6 separate regions of the Homo sapiens genome follow, and regions 2, 3, 4, 5 and 6 are each linked to region 1. The links are contacts of gene promoters, found by promoter capture Hi-C in blood cells and fetal thymus (Javierre and others, 2016). All regions are on one chromosome and are shown on one strand. Each heading gives the region's core, a stretch centred on a gene start or on the middle of the fragment in contact. The rest is flanking DNA. Distances are from core to core; before and after follow the strand shown. Region 1 holds the start of DSCC1 (DNA replication and sister chromatid cohesion 1). Region 2 has its middle 160 kb from the start of SNTB1. Region 3 has its middle 140 kb from the start of SNTB1. Region 4 has its middle 120 kb from the start of SNTB1. Region 5 has its middle 98 kb from the start of SNTB1. Region 6 has its middle 50 kb from the start of SNTB1.

Evidence for each region. The method cuts DNA at HindIII sites, captures the fragments that hold promoters and counts their contacts. A CHiCAGO score of 5 or more calls a contact.
Region 2: a fragment that was not itself captured here is called in contact with the fragment with the promoter of DSCC1 in region 1 in 2 of 17 cell types (naive B cells and total B cells); the score reaches 10.9 in naive B cells.
Region 3: a fragment that was not itself captured here is called in contact with the fragment with the promoter of DSCC1 in region 1 in 7 of 17 cell types (total B cells, naive CD4 T cells, total CD4 T cells and 4 more); the score reaches 14.4 in total B cells.
Region 4: a contact is called between a fragment that was not itself captured here and the fragment with the promoter of DSCC1 in region 1, in 2 of 17 cell types (total B cells and naive B cells). The highest score is 7.6, in total B cells.
Region 5: a contact is called between a fragment that was not itself captured here and the fragment with the promoter of DSCC1 in region 1, in 1 of 17 cell types (total CD4 T cells). The highest score is 5.2, in total CD4 T cells.
Region 6: a fragment that was not itself captured here is called in contact with the fragment with the promoter of DSCC1 in region 1 in 1 of 17 cell types (naive B cells); the score reaches 6.2 in naive B cells.

The regions. Positions count from the first base shown.
Region 1 is chr8:119,853,593-119,857,738 of GRCh38, reverse strand. DSCC1 (DNA replication and sister chromatid cohesion 1) reads left to right here and starts at 1,845. Exons shown (of 9, transcript NM_024094.3): 1 at 1,845-2,125. The coding sequence starts at 1,944. LOC105375728 (a long non-coding RNA gene) reads right to left here. Exons shown (of 4, transcript XR_928590.3): 2 at 2,937-3,064; 3 at 1,860-2,333. RefSeq lists a silencer at 1,694-1,753 and an enhancer at 1,864-2,173. The HindIII fragment of the contact is 2,867 bases long and covers 1,336-4,146 here.
Region 2 is chr8:120,965,534-120,969,679 of GRCh38, reverse strand. No RefSeq gene overlaps it. Among named protein-coding and RNA genes, the nearest start is that of SNTB1, 160 kb to the right of the region's middle. The HindIII fragment of the contact is 3,155 bases long and covers 834-3,988 here.
Region 3 is chr8:120,949,055-120,953,200 of GRCh38, reverse strand. No RefSeq gene overlaps it. Among named protein-coding and RNA genes, the nearest start is that of SNTB1, 140 kb to the right of the region's middle. The HindIII fragment of the contact is 2,603 bases long and covers 879-3,481 here.
Region 4 is chr8:120,925,676-120,929,821 of GRCh38, reverse strand. No RefSeq gene overlaps it. Among named protein-coding and RNA genes, the nearest start is that of SNTB1, 120 kb to the right of the region's middle. The HindIII fragment of the contact is 8,548 bases long and covers 1-4,146 here.
Region 5 is chr8:120,908,373-120,912,518 of GRCh38, reverse strand. No RefSeq gene overlaps it. Among named protein-coding and RNA genes, the nearest start is that of SNTB1, 98 kb to the right of the region's middle. The HindIII fragment of the contact is 8,091 bases long and covers 1-4,146 here.
Region 6 is chr8:120,859,783-120,863,928 of GRCh38, reverse strand. No RefSeq gene overlaps it. Among named protein-coding and RNA genes, the nearest start is that of SNTB1, 50 kb to the right of the region's middle. The HindIII fragment of the contact is 4,053 bases long and covers 263-4,146 here.

The DNA.
Region 1 (4,146 bases), core at 596-3,095:
TCCAAGAGAACAGAATCAATTTTAGCTGATTCTGTTCTCATGAACAGAACTTTTGAAATTTATTATAACTGTTCATTTTTTTACCTGATAAAGAATATTTTTTTCCTGCTACCAGATGAATGATTAAGCCAGCTTCAATCGTTTTTTGAAAAGGTACAGAAAATTTCTTACTTTAGAAAAACATATTAACATAATTTTAAAGAATGAATTAATAAAAACTATCATCATTTTGTCTTATGAGAGGAACACAGGTCCAGCTCCCTGACAGAATATCAAATTAATGGCAATAATTTCATACCATTAATTGGAAATTAAATTCATAATGATTAATACATAAAAACAAAAAGAACTGCTGCCATTTATTAAGCAGCCATGCATTTTAGAATGTACATCTTAAGAATGTAGGTCTTATGTGCTTTTTTATCGATAAGGAAGTTGTACTCAGAGAAATTAGGTAAATTGCCTTAGGTCACAAAGTTCTGAAGAGAGTTGGGATTCGCAGCCATGCCTGTCTGATGTAAATGTCAGGGTTCTAGTTGACACTGCTTCTAGTTGTAGGGAATGTTTCCCATTTAATAGAGCAACTACAATGGTTGATTCCCTTCAATAATAACTTCTTATCAGGCAACCACTGTCACATTCAGGATTTCATTCCACCGAATTCCTATGCATTCAAATGTAAAAGAGGCTAGTGAAGAAGTAGGTCACATGAACCAATCTTTCCACCACCAACGAAAGCACTGCCCAGACTCCTGGGATGCCCTACTCTGGTATTTTCGTATCATTTTACCCAAGAATTGAAAAAAATGTCTGCTCAGATCCTTTGAATTCAACACCTTACCCACCACTTTCTTTCACTTCAAGCAAGGTCTGATTTGCACTAACTAGTAGGAGGTCACCATCTCTTAAGTGATTCCTCCCAGACTATTTTAGCTCTCAGGGACAGCCAGGGCCCTCAACGATTCCCTAAGCATCTCTGGGAAAGTTTACACATTACGCTGTTACAAGCAATTCATGTATGTGTGCATAGTGAAAACCTTTTCTCTTAAAACTCTTAATACTGAAGTTCCCCAAACCTTTGGAAAATGTACAAGTCACAGATGCTCCTGTGACTTGTTTTTCCCTTCGGGTGCGTCCTCAACCTTGCTTAAATAAACCTCTATTGAACGAGACCTGCATCAGTCACTTTTCGGTTAACACTAGGTATTCAACGAATAGACTAGTCCCGCCGTTGTCTCCAGATATGATGGTGCCCTGACCCAAAGAAGCGAGATACTCCTTCCCAGGGCCTCGCTCCCGAGCATGGGTTATTTGCACAAAACCCCGCAGGAAGCTTTTAGAGCCACAGTCGGCTAGGCTGGAGTCAGACTCTGTTACCTCCTGACTCTGCCATCACGAGCAAGGAGCCTGCTTCCTCATTGGCAAAAGGGAATGACCAAGGCACCACCTTACAGGGTTGTGGCAACGGGCTCATGGAATTATACATGCCAAGTGGTTATCACAGGGCCCGCCACTGGCGGAAGGTGAGACAATGTGGACGGCGAGGAAATGGGAGCATCGGCTGGAAACCAGGGACGGAGATCGGGGATGGGGGGCGGGCAAGGGGACAGCGGAAAGGGTGGGCGAGGGATCCGTGTCCCAACCCGCCGAGTCGCAGCTCTGCCCCTGCGAGCTTCCGCCGAGACCGCCCCCCGGGAAGCCGCGTTTCCTTCCTGCAGTCGCGGTCCGGCGTGGGGCACGGAGGGGCTCGCGCTCCCAGAAGCCGGCAGGCCTTCCCGCGGGCGGGCCCGCAGCGCGCTCCGCCCCGGAAACACGCCCATGGCCGCCTTGGCGCGCTTTCAAACGCTCAGGTTTCCTACCTTCCGGCTGCTTGGGAACTTCTTTCTTGCCCGCCAAGCCCGCAGCCACCCGGGCGCGGCGGGACTCCTAGACCCGGCGCTGCGATGAAGAGGACCCGCGACGAGGTGGATGCGACGCTGCAGATCGCCAAGCTGAATGCGGCCGAGCTGCTGCCGGCGGTGCACTGCCTGGGCTTCGGCCCTGGGGCCAGCGGCGCTGCAGCCGGCGACTTCTGCCTGCTGGAGCTGGAGCCCACGCTGTGCCAGCAGCTGGAGGATGGACACAGGTGAGCCCTGGTCACGCGGCGCCCCCAGCCTCTGGCCGGCCACGTTATTTTCTCAGCGGGGAAAGTCGGGATAAGAAAACAGGGCCAGAGAGATGCACTGACCTGGCCGGGGGCTCATAGCAAGCTGCCTGTTCCCGAGGAGTCCACGCCTCCGGTGGGCCGTCCAGTTAGCTGCACTGCGGTGATGAGTAGCACTGGTCCAGCTGACCTTGGAGGCATGTGTCAGCGGGAGCAAGTCAGGAAATACTAATACAACCTCCGTGAAGTTTTTGAAGAGTTACCGGTGATTACAGGGACTCTACAGGACACCTGTCACTCTACCTTAAAATACAGTGGTGATACCCAATGTTTATAGAACTCTTGCCTTCCACTTATATTTATTTTACTCAGATGATAGATAGGAAGTGCTGGGAATCAGCTTACAGACTTGGTAATTGGGTGAGACCCCTACCCACCCCGAAGCAAACTTGCTTAGTAGGGATCTGAAGCTGTTTCTAATTCCAGGTCAGATACAAACTTGCTGCAAGATCATTGATTAGAAGTCGAAGTTGAGGTAGTTTTTTAAAGGCAGTCTTGAGAAGTCTAGAGAATCGTTATATCCCTCCACCCTGTGCAGCCCCAGCTCCTGCAAAATAGGGAGCTCCAGCTTGATTCTCTTTTGCACAATTGGTCCTCCGACACCTATATTTTATTAGGCTATTTTTTCTCTTTTTTCTTAATGGAATCCTTTAGGCTGTCTTTCAGTTTTCGTACTTTGCCCACCAAAGAGTGTTAGAGTAAACTGGCCATTCTTCAGATACCTGCTATATACCTCAAAGTACCTTTAAGGGAACTGAAAGAACTTCACTAGTCTGTTTCCATCCCGGTTCAGTTGGTGGAGAGTTGAGAAAGGAACTCAGGTGTGAGGACTTTCTCTCGGTCCAGTTCTAGTTAATCTAGCTGGCAAAAACAAAACAAAACAAAAACAAAAAAATAAAAACAGGCCCTGGAAACGTGTGTTTTTAATTTTGGGGTGTAGGGAGTGATGGTATAAACAAAATATTTCAAAGTGGGGGTAGTGCAGTTAGAGAAATAAATGTTAAAGACTAGGTACTTGGGCCTATTAAGCATTATTAGCATTAGGAATCTAAAAAACCTTTTATTCTTTTTACTTAAATGAAGACTTAGTCAAAAATAAATACACAGTCTGCTATTTCAGGTTTCTTATTATTTATTCAAAAGAAACGAGTTGTGCACAGGAGAATTAAATGCTTTACAGACAAGGAAAACTGCTAGAACCAACTCCCCTGTCATTGCCATCATCTTTGTCTTTAATCCTTCCTTTTCCTCCGCTTCACCTTCATCCTTTCCTCTTCCTTCTTTTTTCTTTATCTTTTTTTTGGGGAGAGAGTGGTGGGAACAGGGTCTCACTCTGTCAGCCAGGCTGGAGTGCAGTGGCACAATCACGGCTCTCTGCATGATGGTGCCATGACTACTTGGGGTCAGGCGATCCTCCCACCAGCCTCCTGAGTAGCTGAGACTTAAGGTGTGCATCATCACACCCAGCTAACTTTTAAATTTTTCTTTTGTAGTGATGGGGTCTTGCTATGTTTCTCAGGCTGGTCTCAAACTCCTGCTCTCGAGCGATCTTCTGGCCTCAGCCTCCTAAAGTGCTAGGATTACAGGCATGAGCCACTGCGTTCTTGCTTTTCTTCAAAATCCCTTTGTCAAAGTCTTTGGTTTAGTACAGTTTTTAAACATATCCTTTTCATATTTTTCATTCACCACTGCATCCTTTTTTTCATAAGGTCCCAATTTTTTTGCAACACAACTTATGGTTAGGCCAGGATGTGCTCCTTTGATTGTGAGGGGGTACTCAGAACAAAACAAGGACGACACTTGGGTGGGGTACCATGAGCAGCAGCTTGGCCTTGGCCTTTCTTCGGGAACTTGTTAGAAATACGGGACCCTGGGTCCCATCCTAGACCCAGTGTATCCCACTCTGCTTTTGAACAACACTCTCTAAGATGCCTATGCATAAA
Region 2 (4,146 bases), core at 1,162-3,661, 1.1 Mb before region 1:
CCAGCTTCTGAGCTGTTGAGATGTAGACAGATCTGAAACATCTAGTTCTTACCAAAAGCTCAAGTTTAGTAGAGCTGGGCAAGCTCAAGAAAACTCAGAAATTATTTTTACATATTTTTCATAAAAACACTAGAATCATTACTAAAAAAAAAAAAAATAGTAGATGAGGGCCGGGCATGGTGGCTCATGCCTGTAATCCCAGCACTTTGGGAGGCTGAGGTGGGCGGATCACGAGATCAGGAGATCGAGACCTTCCTGGCCAACATGGTGAAAACCTGTCTCTACTAAAAATACAAAAAATTAGCTGGGCCTGGTGGCTCCTGCCTGTAATCCCAGGCAGGGGAAACGGTTGAACCCTGGGGGGCAGACATTTCAGTGAGCTGAGATCATGCCACTGCACTCCAGGCTGGCAACAGAGCGAGACTCCGTCTCAAAAAAAAAAAAAAAAAATTAGATGGTTAAGAACCAGAAAATTATTTTAAAAATTGCCTTTGTAGGATCTATTTAAATATCTAAAGCATCATTTTATTTAGGAGAAACTTTTAACAAATAAAATTTTGATACCAAAAAATAGATGACAAACATTAAAATATTGGTTTCTTGCTCTAATTCAAAGTAGAGATATCTGCAGCATATTACAGCTGAAACAATTGTATAGAAAGAGCCTGGTTGAAGACATGGTTCTGTAATATACAGTTGATCTGACCTGAGACAAGTCATTATGCTTCTCTGAGACTCTACTTCCTCACCTTGAATATAAGCATCGGATTACTTCCTTTGCAAACTTCCTAGAGTATTAAATCAGGCAAAGATAAGCAGATATACAACAAGCTTTGAAGGCTCCAACGGACTCTAGAAATCCTGGGTATTATTAGCAGTATTACAGATCTCAGTGGTCTACAACTTTTTATCTTACAGTTTTAATTTACTTCCTTATAACTAACATGGTCCCAAGAAAATGTGGAATGAACCTATTTGAATTGTTGTTGTTGTGTATGTGCTGTTTTATTTGTATTTTTTTTTTTAGTGAAATAAGACACACAGGAAATATTAGCAGACATCATAACAAGAGATTGGAATACAAGGAATAAATAGGAAGGCCTGCCAAGCTCTTCAGTGTCTAACAAAGAAAATATATTTCATTATGTTGTCTTCTGAGCATATGGGAAATGTTAAAATAAATGAACCCAACAAATACTTGTAAGTCTCATTTCTTTTGCTTCCCTGCCCCCCAACAGAAAACACTCATAAATCATTCATTTTATGTAAAACTAAAATTATTACCTCCTACTTGGCTGCTTCTGACTGTACAAACTGGTCATGTTATGTCCAACTGTTCCCAGCATCAAGAATTCAGCTGGCTCTTGCTCTAATATGTCTTAAGTTCACTAAGTTTATGTTTCTCCCACACCCACTAGACAGAAAAGCTCTTGAGGGCAGGGGCTGACTTCTCTGTAACCTCAGCTCCTCCTTCAGTGCCTGACATACCGTAGGTGCTAATTCAATGGTGAAGGAATGAGTGAGGATTAAATAATTCTTTTACCGTATGCACAGCCAGATTTTCTTTTTCATAATTATCAAATATTCATGAGTAGATTTTTCCTGTTATCAATTTTTTCCCCAAAGACGGCAAAGACTGGGTTGGATGCCTTAGTTAGGCATCCTTTAGTTTTTTTATATCTATGTAACAAACTTCACCTAATACACAAATTTCATCTTTACACAGCTGTAGTGAATATTAAATGGGTTTACACATGTAAAGAGTTTAGCACTTACATGATATGTCCTCAGTAAGCTAAAGATTACTATTATTCATCCATAAGAGGAACTGTAGTGGCTCTGAAGTCAGATTACCTGGATTCCTATCCTAATTCTCCTGTTGCTGCTATGCGATGTGACTTTATCTCTATAGTGGAGAAAAGTACTGCTCATCTCATAATACTGTAGGAGTTTCACATGAGATACTCTGTATGAAAATAATGCAAGAAAATTAAGCACATGCACAGTGCTGGAAACATAGTATGCAAATAATAAATACTAGAAAATAAAAAAAAATGCAAGAAACATGTGTTAATCACTTGCTATATACAAGACACTAGGCTAGCTACTCTGGGGGAAGAGATGTAAGATAAGACCCAGTCCCAAACCTTATGGGGTTTAGATTCTCAGCAGAATCTCAATGTAAAGCTGTCAAGGGAATAGATGATAAAGAGGACAGATAGACTTCCCCTCTGTTGTTCTCCCAGAGCTCTGGGAAAACAACATAACTTTTCTGTCATATAACTGAAAGAAAAGGGATTTATACTGCAGCCATGTAAAAGGACCATCAAATGTCTCCTAACACTTTAACTATTAGATGTTAGTGGTATATAAATAATAAAAATAACAACCTGATTAAGCTGAAAATTTTATATTTGATTTCATTTAATCCTTACAACAAAATTGCAAAATAAGTACCATTACCCACACTTTACAGATGGAAGTTCACAGATGATACATAATTGCCCAGGGTCATATATTAAGTGTGGCTATACCTAACTGCTCTATAAACCCAAAAATGCACACTGGCACTAACACAATAGACGTTCATTTCTTGTCTACTAGGTTGTTGAAGAGGAAGGCAGAGACCTGGCTGCCAGAAGCTCTGTCAATTTCGATATTCTAGCAGAATAAAGAGGAGAAAGAGGATGCAGGAGAGTATCTGGGAGGGTTAAGGAACCAGGCCTGGAAGTGGTGCACATCACTTGTGCAAAGTTTCTGTAATCTAGAACGCAGTCACCTGTACACACTTAACTCCAGGAAGAAATGGGAAATGTGGAATCTGGCTAGGTAGACACTTCTCACGTATAACTCCTTACTGTTGAACAGGAAGCATAAATATCTGTGTATCTTCAGCCCTCTCTAGACGAAATATCTGTGTATCTTCAGCCCTCTCTAGACAAGAAAGTAAGTACCAAAGTCATGAGTGAAACTCAGGTTTATCTGACTACAAAGCTCATGCTTCTAAACAAACACTGGTAACCATAAGAGCTCCTGATGGTCCCAGCACTGCTCCTAAGTGCTGTATATGTTTCAAATCATTTCATCCTCAAAACAACTCTATGAAGAGATAGACTAAGAAAGCACAACCCAGAAGGATTAAGCAGCGTGTTCAGTTCCTTCATGAGAATTACATGAGAGAGTATGTGTGTGATCAGGGCTCACATCACCCCTGTCCCTGATCTTGTTTCCTCTTTTTCTTGTACTCTTTGTTTTATGTTTAATTGACAGATAGTTATTGCATGTATTTATGGAGTACAATGTGGTATTTTGATACATGTATACATTGTGGGATGATAAAATCAGGCTAATCAGCATATCTCTTACCACAAATATTTAATGTATCTTTGTGGTGAAAACATTCAAAATTCTCCTTTTAGCTTTGTTAAAATGTACAGTTTTGACCATTTCCCAGTACTGTTCCAGTTCTGTGTGCAGCCTGAAAGCCAAGTTCTGAGAGCTGCCTGGAAGAATGTCTTCTACCAGTTATCCCAGGAGCAGAACTGAGCTGTCTCCCACAGGATGCCACCAAAGACCCCAAGACATCCTATAGACAGTTATTTTGGCCTGTATGATACCATCACTTGATTTTCTCTCTTTACAGACAGTCCTTAATGTGGGTTATCCAGGAATCCCACAACAAAACATCCCACTGAGAGAAAAAGGTTTTGGCTTTGTACACAAAGATTTAATGTACTTGCAGCTTTTGGAACACAACATTTCTCTTCAAAAGTTTGCCATAGAATGGTGACATTTGTCAAGACTAAAAAGCTATAATTCTATTCATATATTACTTTGAAGTTGAAAACTAAAATTGCATTTACTGGACATAGATTTTAAATCCTCTATTTTCAAAGTAACCACAGACCAATCTTTTACAGTGAGGTCTTATAGCAGAGTAAATTTCATGGTGGTTGCTGCTTCTAAAAGGATTTCATGACGTTAAGCTTATGAACCCAGGCTTTGGCACCAGGTTTCGTGCGTGTAAGTCCCAGCTATGTCACCTCCCGTAGATACATGACCAAGGCAAAAGCACTTAACACTAGGCCAGTATTTCCCAATCTGCTGAATGGAGCCAATCCCAGTGCCTATTTCAGAGTGCTGTTG
Region 3 (4,146 bases), core at 931-3,430, 1.1 Mb before region 1:
CGTGAACTACAGCTCAGACCTGACCTTGGTGGAGGGAAGAAACTCTAATGAGGATCTGAGATCAAAGTTTTGACTTGGACCACACTAGATTTTTCAATACCTGAAATGAGACATTTTTGATGTTGAAAGTGACTTGGTAGTCATAGGATTTTCCTAAGAGATTATCACAGGACAGGAAAGTGAGAGTCAGTGGATCAGAGAGGGCAGCAGGTAGCAAAAAAATGATGTTATCATTTTTTCTGTGCACCCAATTAATACTAGCAAGAAAATGGTTACACATGGTACTGAGAGTTCATAGTCCCAACAGCCAATATTAATACCAATATTAATATTGACCTCTGCCCCCACTGCTCCCTGAGCCACACAAAGCACTGTATGAGGCTCTCCATGCAAGCTCCGTGCCCTCCTTAAGCCAATCCCTTCCTGCAAGGAGGAGTTTCTCTACTTGGTCAGTCTGAGTCACGCACACATTCATGAATTGAAGACAAAGCCACAGGATTGAAGTTCCTACTGGTTCTATTGTAATCAAGTAGAGGGTTAAGAAGCATTTCCCAAAAGGAAGGGATGCTGAAAAAGAAAAAAAAAAAAAAAAAAGATGGACCTTACAATACCAAACGTGTGGCCTACCACATCAGCACACCCGTATTTACTTGTTCTGTTGTCAGTTGTCAGAAATCATCTACTTCTGCCTTTTAAACTAACCTACTTTTTAAACTTTTTTTCTTGAATAGTAGGATTGATTCAGAGAATCAAGGAGCAGGATGTCAGCAAGGCAGAGTAAACGTGAGGTAGACTTAAAGCAAACTGATGTAAATTTAATTCCTGGTTCTTCCAGCAACCTGTACTATTTGTGACAAATCACTTCATATCTCCAAGCTTTAAAACTTCTGTAAGTCTTACAAAATTAACCTTAAAAGAGGGAAAAATAGTCATTAGCCACATGAATGACCTCAAAAACAATTCAATACCTCCAAGCCTCACAAGTCTTTTGTTTTGTTTCGTTTTTCGTTGAGACGGAGTCTTGCTCTGCCTCCCAGGCTGGAATCAAGCAATTCCTTGCCTCAGCCCCCTGAGTAGCTGGGATTACAGGCGCCCACCACCATGCCCAGCTAATTTTTGTATTTTTAGTAGAGATGGGTTTTCACCATCTTGGCCAGGCTGGTCTTGAACTCCTGACCTCAGGTGATCTGCCCACCTCAGCCTCCCAAAATGCTGGGATTATAGGCGTGAGCCACTGCGCCCAGCCACAACTCTAAAAATCTTACAAAATAGGGCTAGGCACCATGGTTCATACTTGTAATCTCAGCACTTTGGGACGCTGAGGCAAGAAGATTACTTGAGCCCCAGCGTTTGCAGCTACAGTGAGCCATGATCATGCCACTGCACTACAGCCTGGGCAACAGTAAAACCCTGTTTTTAAAAACCATAAAAAAACTTACAAAATTAATCTAGAGAGAGAAAAGAATAGTCAACAGCCACATAACTGACCTCAGAAACAACTTTTACATATTTGATTTTCCTTAGATAAATAAGTATATAGTCTACATTATTGTGCATTCATTAGATTTTAAAGATAACATCAAGGAACATAAAACTCAACCTTATTTTGTTAAACAATAAAGATGTCTACTTTGTTCTATATAATAAACTGCCCAGGTAAAGGTTTAAATATAAGAGAAAAAAAGAAAAGTAGAAAGAGATAGAAACACCAAAAATTCTAAGAAAAAGGCAGAGACAAGCACAACGAAATTAAAAAGTCAAACCCAGAAAAACAAGCATCACAGAACCTGAGCAATACAGTGACTTCTATAGAATAGGAGCACCATCTTGTGGAAGGTAAGGATACTGCAGCTGAAGGCTTCTGATGCCTTACTCCATCTTCTCAACTATGCAACAATTGTAAACAGCAACATCACTTTCTTGGTACTTTTCCAATGAACCAAGTGAAATTAAGTAGAGGAACAAGACCCAATGTATGGACTGCAGGTTCCCCAATTCTTAGAGGAAATAATGGCTCATAGAATGTCTTCAAAACATCACAAATATGAGACACACATGAAAACATTCAGAATAAATCTAAAGGCAATGAAATTATAAGTGAGGCTGTCTTAATCTTAAGTTTTCTGTGACTTGTTTCACTGATCTCAATTAATTAGTGTATTTATTTGAATGTGAATATTTATAGAGTATATGTTATATACCCCAGATACCACTATGGCGGTGTGTGTGTGTGTGTTGCATGATTCCATTTATGTCAAATGTCTAAATAGGAAAATCCATGAGAAAGAAATTAGATTAACGATTTCCTAGGCTTGAGGTTTGGGAGCAAATGGTGGGGATGATGGCTAATTGGTACAGGCTTCCTTTTGGAAGTGTACCCTTTTGGGGGTGATGAAGAGGTCTTAAAATTGATGGCTGCTTGGGAGGCCAAGGCAGGCGGATCACCTGAGGTCAGGAGTTCGAGATCAGCCTGGCCAACGTGGTGAAACCCCATCTCTACTAAAAATACAAAATTTAGCCGGGCATGGTGGCACGTGCCTGTAATCCCAGCTACTCGGGAGACAGAGGCAGGAGAATCACTTAAACCCGGGAGGAGGAGGTTGCAGTGAGCTGAGATCACGCCACTGCATTCCAGCCTGGGTGACAAGACAAAACTCCATCTCAAAAAAAAAAAAAAAAAAAAAAAAAATTGATGGCTGCCATGGTTGCAAAGCTCATGAATGTAGTAAAAGTCACTGGAGTATTCACTTTCAAGGGGTGAATTCTATGGTAAATAAATTATATATAAATAAAGCTATTATCAAAACATGTATTTGTAAAGAAAATGCAGCAGAACTCATTGGGACATTTTTGAATATGTGTAATAAAGATAAAAATTTGCATTGATAAATATTTGTACATCATCCTTGTTAAAATATATGAATAAAATGTGTTCTGTGAAGGATTACCACTATTTGCTTGGTCTCTGTACCACACAGATCAGTCTGTACATATGATATAAAAACAAATTGTAATTTACTCCTACAGTCAAACAAATGTTGTTCTTTGACAGAGTGAACTCAAATCACTTACCTGTTTTGTGAAGCTGCCAGATACCACTTTGGGTGCTGGAGACACACCAGTGAATAATACAAGGGCCCTGGCCTTAAGGAGCTTTTGTTCCAGTGAGAGACAAATGATCAAGAAGCAAGTAATTGTAAAGTGCCATATGATATAAGATGTTATAATGCTAAATAAAGCGGTGTGGCAGACAGGAAGTGTAGGGATGAGGGAGGGGACTGCTGTTTTCTACAGAGTGGATAAATTAGTGAAAACTAAGCAGAGACATGAAATAAGCAAGGGAGTGAGTCATGTGGCTATGGAAGAAGGTAGAACCAAAAGCAGCTAATAAACGAGGTGCTTGGGCTCTGAAATCAGATATACCTGAGCCAGAATCCCAGCTCTGCCATTTACCAACTCTGTTACTTGAGCTCCCTAAGCTTCAATTTCTTCATCTACAAAATGAGACAAATAATGCATTATCCGATGTTGCAAAGGTTAAATGCATATAGAGTGCTTTTCACAGGGCCAGCCACATGACAAATGTACAGCAACTGTAGCCAACACCTATGTCAATTTGACCACGTGAACATGTAGATAGATATTTGAACACTCTTGTTTCATTTTTATGGGATTTTCAATAATAGCTAACATTTATTGAATGCTTACTCTGTACGTCTTAAAACCTCACAATGTCAAAAAAGGGTAACATTATTTTCATTTTATAGATGAAGAAACTGAGGCTTGATGAAGTTAAGTAGCTTGTTCATGTTCATGAACACAACTAACTGTGAGCCAGAAATTAGATAAAGGCCGTCTGACTACAGAATCTATACTGTTCGCCAGGATGCAAAACTAGCCCTCAACTAGAGTGCATGCAAACCAAGTGTCTGAAGCCAAAACCCAAACTCATACCTCCATTTCTTCCCACTCTGCTTAACGCTCACTCAGAATTACCTGATTTAATCATGCTACAATTCAAGTTTGACAGTTACACCAAAACTGCACATATATGCTGCCAAAACAAGTGGTCACTGTAAAGATTTCAAATTGCCTGGTCCAGTTGTTTTTCCATCCATAGAGAGCAACTTGTTATGGAGATGTGAA
Region 4 (4,146 bases), core at 981-3,480, 1.1 Mb before region 1:
ATATGAATCTGAAGCTCAGTGGACAAATTCAGGATTATCAGAATTTAGTGAAAATTTAAACCTTGAGAGGGACAAGCTCACCAAGAGAGAGAACCACCCTGCTAATCCTAATATTCTTAAAATACTATAGAATCGGAGAGCTTGGAGAAGCATTAGAGATTATCAGATCCAACTCCTTCATTCAGTAATTAAGAAAACTGTAGTCCTAAATGATATAATAACTTGTCCAAGGTCATTTAACTGGTTATTTCATGACAGAGCCAGGACTGAATCCCTGATTTTCTGACTTCTATGTAGACTTTTTTCTAAATCATGACAAGCTCTGAGTTACTAGGTTTCATTTAACTCAATAAATATATGTTCTGCATATATTGTGAACAACAAATTGTGTAATATGTTAGTTTAATGGATAGCACTTTGTTTCAAAGCACATTTTATAATTTAATATTTTTGCCAACCTTGTAAAGTTGGTTAGACAAGTGGTTTGGAGGTAAGAAAATCTAGGCTTAGAATACTTGAATGACTTTTCCAAGGTCAAGTGGCCAGTGAGTAGCTACCAGTATAGAACACATGTCTTCCAATGTTCTTCCTTCTGCCTCTCTTTTAATGTAATGTTTCATTGCAAGTGCTTAAGGTATAAATTAGCACAGCTTCTCAGGATTTGTGATGACTTCTCAGAAACTTCAGAAAAATACATTCCAAGATATTTATACTCTGTACTATTTTTCTTTTATTCATATTTTAATTGAAAAATAAAAATGTGGTTTTTTAAATATTTATGGTGTATAACATGATGTTTTGAAATATGTGTATTGTGGAATGACTAAATCAAACTAATTAACATATGCATTACCTCCATACTTATCAGTTTTTTTTGTGATAAGAACCAAATTTTCAAGTATATAAAATCTGCACTATTTCTATAGTTCTTCAGGCTGCTAATATTCAGAGTGCTTAGCAGTCACAGTGCTAACATAGATGGTTTTATAGGAGGTATATTTGTTTCCTGGGGCTGCTGCGACCAATTACCACAAACTTAGTGTCTTACAATGATGGAAATTTATTTCCTCACCATTCTGGAGGCCAGAAGTCTACAACCAGGGTCATACTCCCCACAAAACCCCTAGGGAAAAATTTGTTCCACATCTCTTCCAGTTTCTGATGCCTGCCAGCTTTCTTGGCTTGTGGCTACATCACACTAATCTCTGCCTCCATCTTCACATAGCCTTTTTCTCATTGTATCTATCCCCCATGTGTATCTTATAAGCATGCTTGCTATTGGATCTAGGACCCATCCAGATAATTCAGAATGATCGCCTCTTCTCAATATCCTTAACTTAATGACATTTGCAAAGACACTTTTCCAAACATCACAACATTCACAGGTTCTGGGGACTAGGATATGAATATATCTTCTGGGAAGCAAAGGAGAAGAGTTATTCATTCAAAGGTCAGGAGCTTAACAAGTGAAGTGAATCAAAGCTCTGCCAAAGTGATGACCAAGCATTCTCTTTCCCAAACAGAGTCTTCAGTTTATGTACAAATTTTGAAAAAAGTCCAAGAGGTCAGTCTTCTGAAAAAATTCCCTACCATCAGCTTTGTCAGATAGCCATGAGTCTTGCGCTGGAGGTGAGAATATATCCAGCAAGTTGGGCCTGGCTTACATGCTTGGGCATATGCCCTGTTTATATGATACCCTCTGCCAAAGTCAGCTTCATGCCAAGAGGCAAACTTGAAAAGCCACTGTCGAAACAAGAGCTCCTGTTTATCTCTGACCAGCATAGCAAGTTCTCTGCATCACTCACTCTCAGAGAGCCGGCCACTAGACTAGCCATGCTCTTCCTGCTGATCCTTTGAACAAAGATTGATAGGTGTTGATTTCCAACTCCAGAGCTGTGTCTGTGATGTATCACAATCTGAAGAACTTACATATAAGGGATAGTCTTTCAGGGACTATTGACACCTCTACTGTATGATTATTCTTCCATGGGAAAGACATCCTCTTTTCCACACTATTGGGAAGAAAAATAAGGGAATTGATACTTACTGAGCACGATGAGTCTGTTTAGTTTGCCCCAGATCCACTCTCAATCCTTATTTAATCTGTTTCACAGCTGACTCCTGTGACCTTAATGGACTTCCTTACCAAATGGCTTCAAGTTAGGTTTAACCAATAGAAGACCCTGGAGGAAACTAGAGGGACGAAAAGAGAGGGAAGAAAGCTACACAATTCATTTCCCAATTCCCCAGTGATTGCCAAGGGCTGGGCACATTTCTCCACAAAAGGTCTCAGCACCTGCCTGATAGTTCTCCCTACACAGCCTTCTTAGGTTCTCCCTGGATCCCAGGAAACACTTCTTCTGCTCACATCTTCAGGCCTAAAGTTGGTGACCCCAGAATATTGTACTATATCTTGTAGTTTTCCTCTGCCCTGCCTACACATTGCCCTGCTCTACATTTTCCTCAAGTTTTCCTAATTTGAATGGGCCATGTTTTCTGGCAGGACTCGGACTGATGAAGCCCCAGTTGTTTTATGATATTTGCTAGATGTTTTGTTTTGATGATTACAACAGTCCTACAGAGTAGATACTCTTAACTCCATATTATAGATAAGGAAGCTGAGGTAATACTGCCCTATGAGGTGATATTGCGCTATGAGAAACAGCTAGCAAGTGAGCAGTTAGAAGTCAAACCCAGATCTGTCTAACTTCAAGCCCTTGGATTTTCAGCTATTTCTTCTCAATACTGAAGATATATCTCATAGGATGCCTGGAGAAACAGGGAGTTTTAAGGCACAAAAATGGCAGAATGGTTCAAATGCTTTATTCAAAGTTAACCTTTATAAAGCCATTCAGAGGCCCCAACTGTCTTTAGTATTACATGCAAAAAAAAAAAAAAAAAGATCCTGCAGACACAATAATTGAATGTAATTTATGTCTTTACTGTAGTTCCCTAAAAAGGAGCCAGGAGTAGATTACATTTATAATGCAAAGCCAAACTTCTTAAAGCCTCTTTCCGTTATCATTCTCCCTGTCTATATATGTCACATATGGCAGCTACTCACAAAATCAAATCTTTTTCCTAACCACCTCCATGCTCTCAAGATCTCCAATAACATACTTTCGGCCTCCTAGTCCCTTTGTCCTTTCTTTTTGTTGTTGTTTTCCTCCTGCCAGTAACTCTCTGCCTTTTCCAACAAAAATCCCTCTTGTCAGGACAGCATTAGGATAAATATCTAATGCATGTGGTGCTTAACACCTAGATGATGGGTTGATGGGTGCAGTAAACCACCATGGCACATGTATACCTATGTAACAAACCTGTATGTTCAGCACATGTATCCCAGAACTTAAAGACTAAAAAACCCTTTTGTCTTTTATTTCTTTTGGTTCCTGTCCTCAATTAACACACAACTGAAGAACTACTTGATAGCTACCTGAGCAACATATGCATTTTGTTGGGAGACTGGGAGTTTTGTTAATATACGAAGCTATTTGTTAACAGTTTTTCTGCCACATAGTATAGATTTACTGTTATTTCTTCAAGAAGAAAAGATGTTGGTGTCTCATATAAAATCTATGCTAAGGATAAAATATGTATTACAATTGCCTGGAGCAAGAGAAGGGTAGTGGGAGAGAGTGAAAGGACTATTCAATTCACATCATATCCATTCCTTCAATACACCAGCAAGCTATAGTGTAAATATTTGTTTGAACTCAAGTGTTTGGAACTCTGGACATATTTTGAGAAACATCATTACAGACTACATTTTTTAATCCATCATAAATAGTATTTGCATTAAAATTATAACAATTAATGATGATATTTCCTTATCAATAAATTCACCCTCTGTCTTCTATGTCCCAATCTAGTGACGCGATCATACAGTCAAGCTGACCCAAGAGGAGCTCTATCTACTAGAAAGTGATTCTAAGAACCATTACATTTCACAGCTTTTCTTAAACACCTTAATTGGCAGAATTCAGTAAAAGGTAGAATAAGTCAGTACAAGCAATTTGCAGTAGTTTTTTTTTTAAAGTAACATTTATAGTTTCAGAGCTGTTTATCCCAAAGCATTCTCTTTGTCAAGGCAAAACGGAGAGTAAAATATAAGAGGATGATTCACTCTCAGACTTGAAAGAAAGA
Region 5 (4,146 bases), core at 699-3,198, 1.1 Mb before region 1:
GAGTTTGGTAAATGAAGGAAAAAGTATCAGATTTAGCTTAGCACAATGGTGCATGCCTGTAGTCGCAGCTACTCAGGAGGCTGTAGCAGGAGGCTTGAACCCAGGAGTTCGAGGCCATAGTGCACTATGATCACACCTGTGAATAATCATTACACACCAGCCTGGGCAACACAGCAAGACCCTGTCTCTTAAAAAAGAAGTCAGATGTAATACTGATAATGCTGATACAGAAATGCTTTTAAGTATGCCGCTACACTGGGTTTACCTATACTGGATTGCACACTCCCAGTCACAGGCAGCTCTGATCTACCTTAGATAGGGCTTTTGCTGATAAGATTATATTACGACCCAGGGGAGACAAAAAATTGTGCTTTATTCAATCAGGCAGATCCCAAAGACAAGGGAGCTATGCAGGGCTGTTTCTCCCCCACAGTCATCAATAGAGTATCACCTCTCTCCACCAAGATGACATGTCTAAGGGACAGAAATAGAGCCACTAATTCTATATGGAAATATATGAATGCGGAATAATATTCCTCCTAATAATGATATTTACCTATGACCCTTCCACTTTCCAACCATGGAAGCTCAGTTGTGTTAATTTTTCTGAATTTTGTGACACTTTTAATGACAAAAATAGCTTTCAATTTTCTTCTCTTCACTGAGGCCATTTCCTCCTTGGAATCTCTCAGAGGCTCCTCGATTTCCATGAATCTTCATGAAGGTCAGTATTTCCTGGGTCCCTGTTTTTGACCCTCCTGTAACTCTAAGTAGACTTTTAGGTGGTCTTAAAAGCATGTGTGATTTCACAAAGTATTTCTTGCCCCAAATTTTCTTTCAGTCAAGCTCCAGGATTATATAACTGATTTCTTAGTAAATATCTCACTGTGACCATCCCGTCTGTTTCTCACAAAGGGCTAGATCATGGCGTCTGAATCTCCAAGTCCCAGGGCAGGGCCTGACACATAGCAGACACTCAAGAAAGAAAGGATGGAGGAAGGGTAATTGAGAGAAGGGATACAATAGAGAAAGAAGGGAGAAGGAAAGGGAAGGAAGAAAAAAAAAAGAAGGAGAGACTGAAGAAGGAAGCAAACCTGAGGAGCATTGCTTTCATTAGTAATGAAAGGGAGAAAACATTTATAACTAGACATGTTTCCAATGTGTAATAGCTTTCTGAATTGGGGGCAGTTGATTAAACTTTCTGAACTTCCATTTTCTCATTTATAAAAAAATATTTATTTCAATACATTAGTTTGAGAAGTAACCAAGTTAATGTCTGTGAAAATATCTAGTACATGTAATAAACACTCAATAAATGTTGGTTACATTAAGGTATGCATTTTAAATCATCAAAGTACTGCCGACTGCTGAATTCTTTAAAGTACTCCATTGTACTTCACTTCAGACTTGAAAACCCTGATTTTGAATAAGACACCTGGATTAGGTCCCAAAGAGCCACCATATGGAAGAATTTCACTTGGGGCTCTTCCTATAAAACCACATCAAATATATAAATGTGGGCTGACTCCAGTCTATCTTCAAGTGGGTGGGGCACCCACACTCACTGCTACAATTATGTAGTGGAGCAGCTCAGTGCTTATCTGAAATCTTGATAATTATAAAAGGAGTCATATAGTCTTAAATAGCTTCTAAAAAAACACTACTGTAAAACAGAAGATGATAGTGTTTGCCTCAAAATAGATATCCAAACCGTTCCCTTTCATGATTGAAAACATAATAGTAAACTTAACTTCCTGTCCTGAATTCCTCATTAAACTTCTCTGTAGTTGAGTGAGTTTTAGAATTTCTCCCAAGCTGCAAGTCTTCAGTGACAGGCCTGGAATTTGGTGTGGAGAGAAGAGAGGCTGCAACCAGGATTGGGAATCCAGGTGCCTGCACTCATTTCCCTTAACCTGAAAACTGGCTTGGTAGGAAGCAAGAGGCTCTCAGTATTATATGTTACCTTCAAAATGGCCAGAGGGTGTAACTCCCAGCAATTTTTTTAAAGATTATATGGTGTATTAGTTCTTTCAGCACAAGAATTTTATATATATGTATATATATATATATATATATATATATATTTTTTTTTTTTTTTGAGATGGAGTTTTACTCTGTCACCCAGGCTGGAGTGCAGTGGCATGATCTCGGCTCACCACAACCTCCACCTCCCAGGTTCAAGCAATTCTCCTGCCTCAGCCTCCCAAGTAGCTGGGATTACAGGTGCCCACCACCAGACCTGGCTAATTTTTTTTGTATTTTTAGTAGAGACGGGGTTTTACCATGTTGGCCAGGCTGGTCTTGAACTCCTGATCTCAGGTGATCCACCCGCCTCGGCCTCCCAAAGTGCTAGGATTACAGGTGTGAGCCACCATGCCCGGCCTTGTCTTAATATTTTTAAATCTCCACTCGATACCAAGCATAACTTCTGACACATTGTAGGTATTGATAATCATTAATCAAAAGAATAATAGAAAAATCAAATGAAGGGAAGATTTGAAAAAATAACCAAATGAATAATTGAATGATGAATAAATAAGAGTCTGAAGGACAGTTCAATAGGGCTTTTCATGATTTTACTTTTATGTTCAAGAGTACATCTGCAGGTTTGTTATATTGGTAAATTGCGTGTCACAGGGATTTAGGATACAGATTATTTCATCACACAGGTAATAAGCGTAGTAACTGATAGGTAGTGTTTCTATCTTCACCCCCTCTCACCTTCCACCATCAAGTAGGTCTTGGTGTCTATTGTTCTCTTCTTTGTGTCCATGTGTACTCAATGTTTAGCTCCCACTTATAAATGAGAGTATAAACTATTTGATTTTCTGTTCCTTAGGATAATAGTCTCCAGCTGCATCCTTGTTGCTGCAAAGGACATGATCTTATTCTTTTTTATGGCTGCATAATATTCCATAGTGTATACATACCATATTTGCTTTATCCAGTCTACCGTTGAGAGGCATTTAGGTTGATTCAATGTCTTTGTTATTGTAAATAGTGCTGTGATGAACATGAGATGCATGTTCTTTATGATAGAATGATTTATAGTTCTTCGGGTATATACTCAATCATGGGATTGCTGAGTTGAATGGTAATTCTGTTTTGAGTCCTTTGAGAAATTGCCAAACTGCTTTCCACAATGGCTGAACTAATTTACACTCCCACCAGCAGTGTATAAGTGTTCCCTTTTCTTTGCAAGCTCACCAGCATCTGCTACTTGATGACTTTTTAATAATAGTCATTCTGACTGGTGTGAGATGGTATCTCATTGTGGTTTTGATTTGAATTTCTCTAATGATTAGTGAGGTTGAGCATTTTTTCATATGCTTGTTGGTTGTATGTATGTCCTCTTTTGAAAGGGGTATATTCATATTCTTTGCCCACTTTTTAATGGAGTTGTTTGTTTTTTCTTGTTAATTTGTTCAAATTCCTTGTTGATTCTGATTATTAGACCTTTGTCAGATGTAAGGTTTGCAGATATTTCCTCCCATCTGTAGACTGTTTACTCTGTTGATACTTTCTTTTACTATGCAGAAGCTCTTTAGTTTAATTATGTCCCATTTGTTAATTTTTGTTTTTGTCGCAATTGCTTTTGGCATCTTCATCATGAAATCTTTGCCAAGTCAATAGGGCTTTTCAAAGTGCTTAAAGACTTACAGAAGTGTCCAAATTTGGGCTTACATATTCAAGAACTACATTTTACATGGAGTGATGAGATGTGAGGGTCTAAACCCATATTAACCTGACTCATAAATCAATGATTAATCAATTAATCAATGATTAATTAATCAGTGTCAAATTACTAATTTACATTGAGAAAACTTAACTTTTAGCACTCAAAAATGCTTAGCCTAATTTCTGACTCACAGTAGGCATGCAACCATATTTGCTGACTATGCATAATATTTAGTCAACTCAACAAATATTTAATGAGCATACGCTGTGATCCAGGCACTGAACTTAGCATGGGGGATACAGTGGTAAGTAAATCTATCATATCATGATCAGGCAAGCCTCTTTAATGGAAAAGTCTCTATGGGAACTTGATAAAAATAAAAAAGTTTGCATGTTGCATATAAAACCAGAGAAAAGAGAATCTGATGATCTCAATAATAATTTTATTATCTGCTGGGTAGATATATA
Region 6 (4,146 bases), core at 1,040-3,539, 1.0 Mb before region 1:
TACTAAGAGCCTAGAGGGAACATCACATCCCTGGATTCCCTACACACACACACACACACACACACACACACACACACACATCAAATGTTCCTTTTTTTTTATTCTAGCAAACTTTTAAGTTACTTGTTGATCAGCTTGAGCTTTTCAAACTTTTCCTATAAGCTTTGTTACAGCAGGTTTCAAGTGTCCTTTACTGTAGAACTAGATTTTCACTCTTGAAAGGCATGACCCTCTAGTGTTTCCCCCTGAATACCTCAAAGCTTTAACAAGGGCTCCTTACTATGGTTGACCAGAACACAAACATCTCCTAGCCCTGCGTGTACTCTAGAAACTCTTCAACTTACGATTTCTTGTTTGTTCTTTACCCAGTCTCATGTAGTCTCACCCTTCACAACTGTGGTTTAGTATTCAAGGGGGTCTTCATACAGATTTTGGAGCTCTTTCTCTGGGCAGCTCCTCAATCTCTGGTTTTACTCGTTAAATTCCAGATGTCTCACTCTTTCTAAATTCCAATTGCTCTCCTTCTACGTGCTATCTGGAAAGTGCTTCTGGACAGAAAGTCAGATGAACATAATGTTCACTGATTTGGTTCAGCTGGGTCCCCACTCAAATACCATCTTGAATTGTTGTTCCCATAATCCCCACGTGTCATGAGAGAAACCGGTGGGAGGTAATTGAATCATGGTGGCGGTTTCCCTCGTACTATTCTCGGGATAGTGAGTAAGTTCTCACAAAATCTGATGGTTTTACAAGGGGCTTCCCCCTTCACTCAGTTATCATTATGCTCCTTCCTACCACCATGTAAAGAAGGATGTGTTTGCTTCCCCTTCTGCTATGATTGTAAGTTTCCTGAGGCCTCCCCAGCTCTGCAGAACTGTGAGTCAATTAAACCTCTTTTCTTTATAAATTACCCAATCTTGGGTATTTCTTCATAGAAGTGTGAGAAGGAACTAATGCATTCACCTTGCTTATTTCCCTTCTCTCATAAATTACAGCCCTGCACTGCCTGTTGTCTACTGTCCAGAAATAGTTGCCTTGTGTATTTCATCCAGTTATCCAGTTGTTTACTATGAGAGGATTAAGTCCCATCACGGTTACCCCATTATAGTCAGAAGCTGAGGTAAGCATGTATGAAATTTGGCAACTTATACAAATAAAAATGTTTTCTTCTTAAAAAGTAAATGGGTTTTTCTTTTTTTCAAGGTGATAGATTGGAGGCATTTTTAGCATGCCTCTCCCACTTGGAAAGACAAAATAGTGTGTCGAGATTCTCACTCTGAAATTTTTTCCAAGAAGCAACACGGGAACTTAATAGAAAAACCGAAAGGAGCTACAGACTCTTGGAAAGAAGCAGGAGGAAGTAGCCTCCACCACGAACCAGGTAAAAAACTGGGGGTTTGCATAGTGTGAGAAGGGGAGAGACTGCCTCTGTGACACACTCCCACTGGGGAGCCAGGCAGTCCAGGCCCTGGAGAAAAGTTGTGACTCTACCCAGTGCTGGAGCTGATTTAATGAGTGGTGGGGAGTATGTAAGAAGGAGCAGCATGAAGATATGCTTTGTGTGCAGTCCCAGACTCCAGCGGGGTGGAGGGAAGCCATTCCTGATCCTGTCTCAGGGGACCTTACAGAAGTCTGCCAGCTAACTCAGGCAGTGGTCACAGGTTGACAGAAGCTCCGAATTGATATTTGTGATATAATCTCAAGGGGGATGAAACCTGATGCCCAGAACCAAGGGGAGAGCAGGAAGTGTGCTAAGAAATGGGCACAGGAGCTGGGTGCCTGCTTTGTGGATGGACTGGAAGGGGTATAACCTGAAAGCCACTGTTTCTGTCTCAGTTGGGTAGGCCTAGAGCCTGGGGCAGTTTTGAGTTCTGAGTACAGGCTGCCTGGAACCCAAGTGTGAGACCTGTATTGCCAGATAAGTAGGAGCTGAGTAGCTGAGTGGGGCTTATTGCCACCTGCTATCCCCTGCTTCCTGCGTGGATCTTTTTGTGCAGCAGAGGCAGCTGTGCTCCTCCCAGCAGCCAGGGAACAGCTGTCTGATCTTCAGTGGGGCCACTGCTTGTGTCCACACTTGGGAAGCCAGAGTACAAACTTGCCTGACCTAGGCCCTACCAGGCTCTGCCCTTCCACCTACCCTGGTAGTGTAACACAATGGAGAGGAATATTTGGAAGCTCCATGGCCTTACCCATCACCTGAGATACCAGAGTACCTGCAGTGGGTAACATAAGGCGAGCACAAATTCCACTGCTACCACTGCAGCTGGTGCTCTTTGGCAAGCACCACCTCCTGGCTGGAGGCCAGCTGGCACAGCCCATTGCAACATCTGCAGGCACAATAACACAGCACTCAGGAAGGAGAATACTTTTATGTAACCTCAGCGATCACAATTGCTTGCATCATCCAGGCTAACCAGGAGGCCTTGAGTCTATCCACGTATTTAGTATATTACTATGACAAGCCTATTTATATCCAGGAAATCCCAGAGTCTATGGCACTACCCTCTGACCCCCATCAGGAATGATGCTGTTACCCACTACTAGGAACATCACATCACTGGATCCCCTGCAGACATTCCCCAGCACCAGACTGGAGTACAGCAGCCCCACTGGGTGGCTAGACCCAGAGGAGCAGCAGGATTCACAGTAGTCTTGCCCCCGCAGGGACTGCTACTCCTAGGGTAGAGGGAATGCGCCATGGACATCTGATGGGATGTCTCATGGGACATCTCAAGGGAGCATCCCATGAGACAAAAGAAATCAGGCTGCAAGCCCTGAGTCCCCGAGCTTTCCACTTGTGGGCAGTTTCTTTCAGCAGAGGCATAGGCACACTGCTAGGCTCACTGGGGAAAGTCTAGTCTCAGATCTACCCCGACAGTCAGGCAGCCCTCCCACTCATGAAGGGTCTTGGAGAAGGGAACAAATGGAGGATATGAATGAAAAAAAAATTAAACGAGATAAAGAGATATTTTAAAGAAAAATCAATCAGTATTTCTGGAAATGAAAGACATATTTAGGGAATTAAAATATGCAGTGTAAAAGTTTAACAATAGACTAGACCAAGTAGAAGAACGAACTTCAGACTTCAAAGACAAGGCTTTCAAATTAACCCAATCAGAAAAAAGTAAAGAAAAATTACAATCCTAAATATATATGTACCTAACTCCAGAGCTCTCAGATTCATAAAGCAGTTAGTACTAGACCTAAGAAAAGAGATATACAGTAACACAACAATAGTGGGAAACTTCAGCACTCCACTGATTGAACTAGACAGATCATCGAGGCAAAAAGTCAACAAAGAATCACTGGACTTAAAGTGCACCCTATATTTAGTTTCCCCTTTTTCCTTAGTAAGAGAACCAAGGTTTGGTTCAGGGTAGCTGGCTTTGTCTCAGCTTCCACTGTGGCTAAGGGTAGCTACATCACATAGTGTGGCTGACGAGATGTAACTGGATATCACTAGGAGGGATTCAGGGAAAGTTCCATAAAAAAAAGACACACTTAACTAAAATAAGTGCTGTGCCCTTCACCTCTGTCCCTTATTCTATGTAGATTGTGAACTTGACACTGGAAAAGGGGCTTTCATTTTGCAATCACCAAACATTTTTGAAAATAAAAACCCCATGCCAATGGAGTCTCCATGGAAACACAGAAGAAACCTGGGTTACTGGGAGTGTTGTTCAGCTACAAAATGAAGTCCGAACTGCCCCTCTCAGCACTTCTATTTATAGGAAAGAGAAACAGATCCCTGAATTATTAAGGAACCATTTTTTCAAGTTCTCATGACATGGAGCAGAACACAATCCCTAATGAATCATTGATACAACCATATCTTTTTTAAAAACATAAAAATAAAAAATTGAAAATGTGGCTATACATGAAGAAATTATGAGAGTGTCAAGTAAAGAGTTTAGATGCTCAAATGTAGGCACTAGGAATTGTCCAAAGAAGCACGTAGGATACCCTCCAAGGTGGAAACATAGAGCAAAAAGTAGAGATATGAGGAAATCATGAATCAGAATGAAGAGTGGTGAAGAGATGGACCAGGTGCTAGGTATTAAATAGTTGAAAACACAGAGCTTCAGCCATCAATGCCTAGACTGAATTAACATCAGCGGCCGCATCCAAGGGCAGATGGAGGCTTCC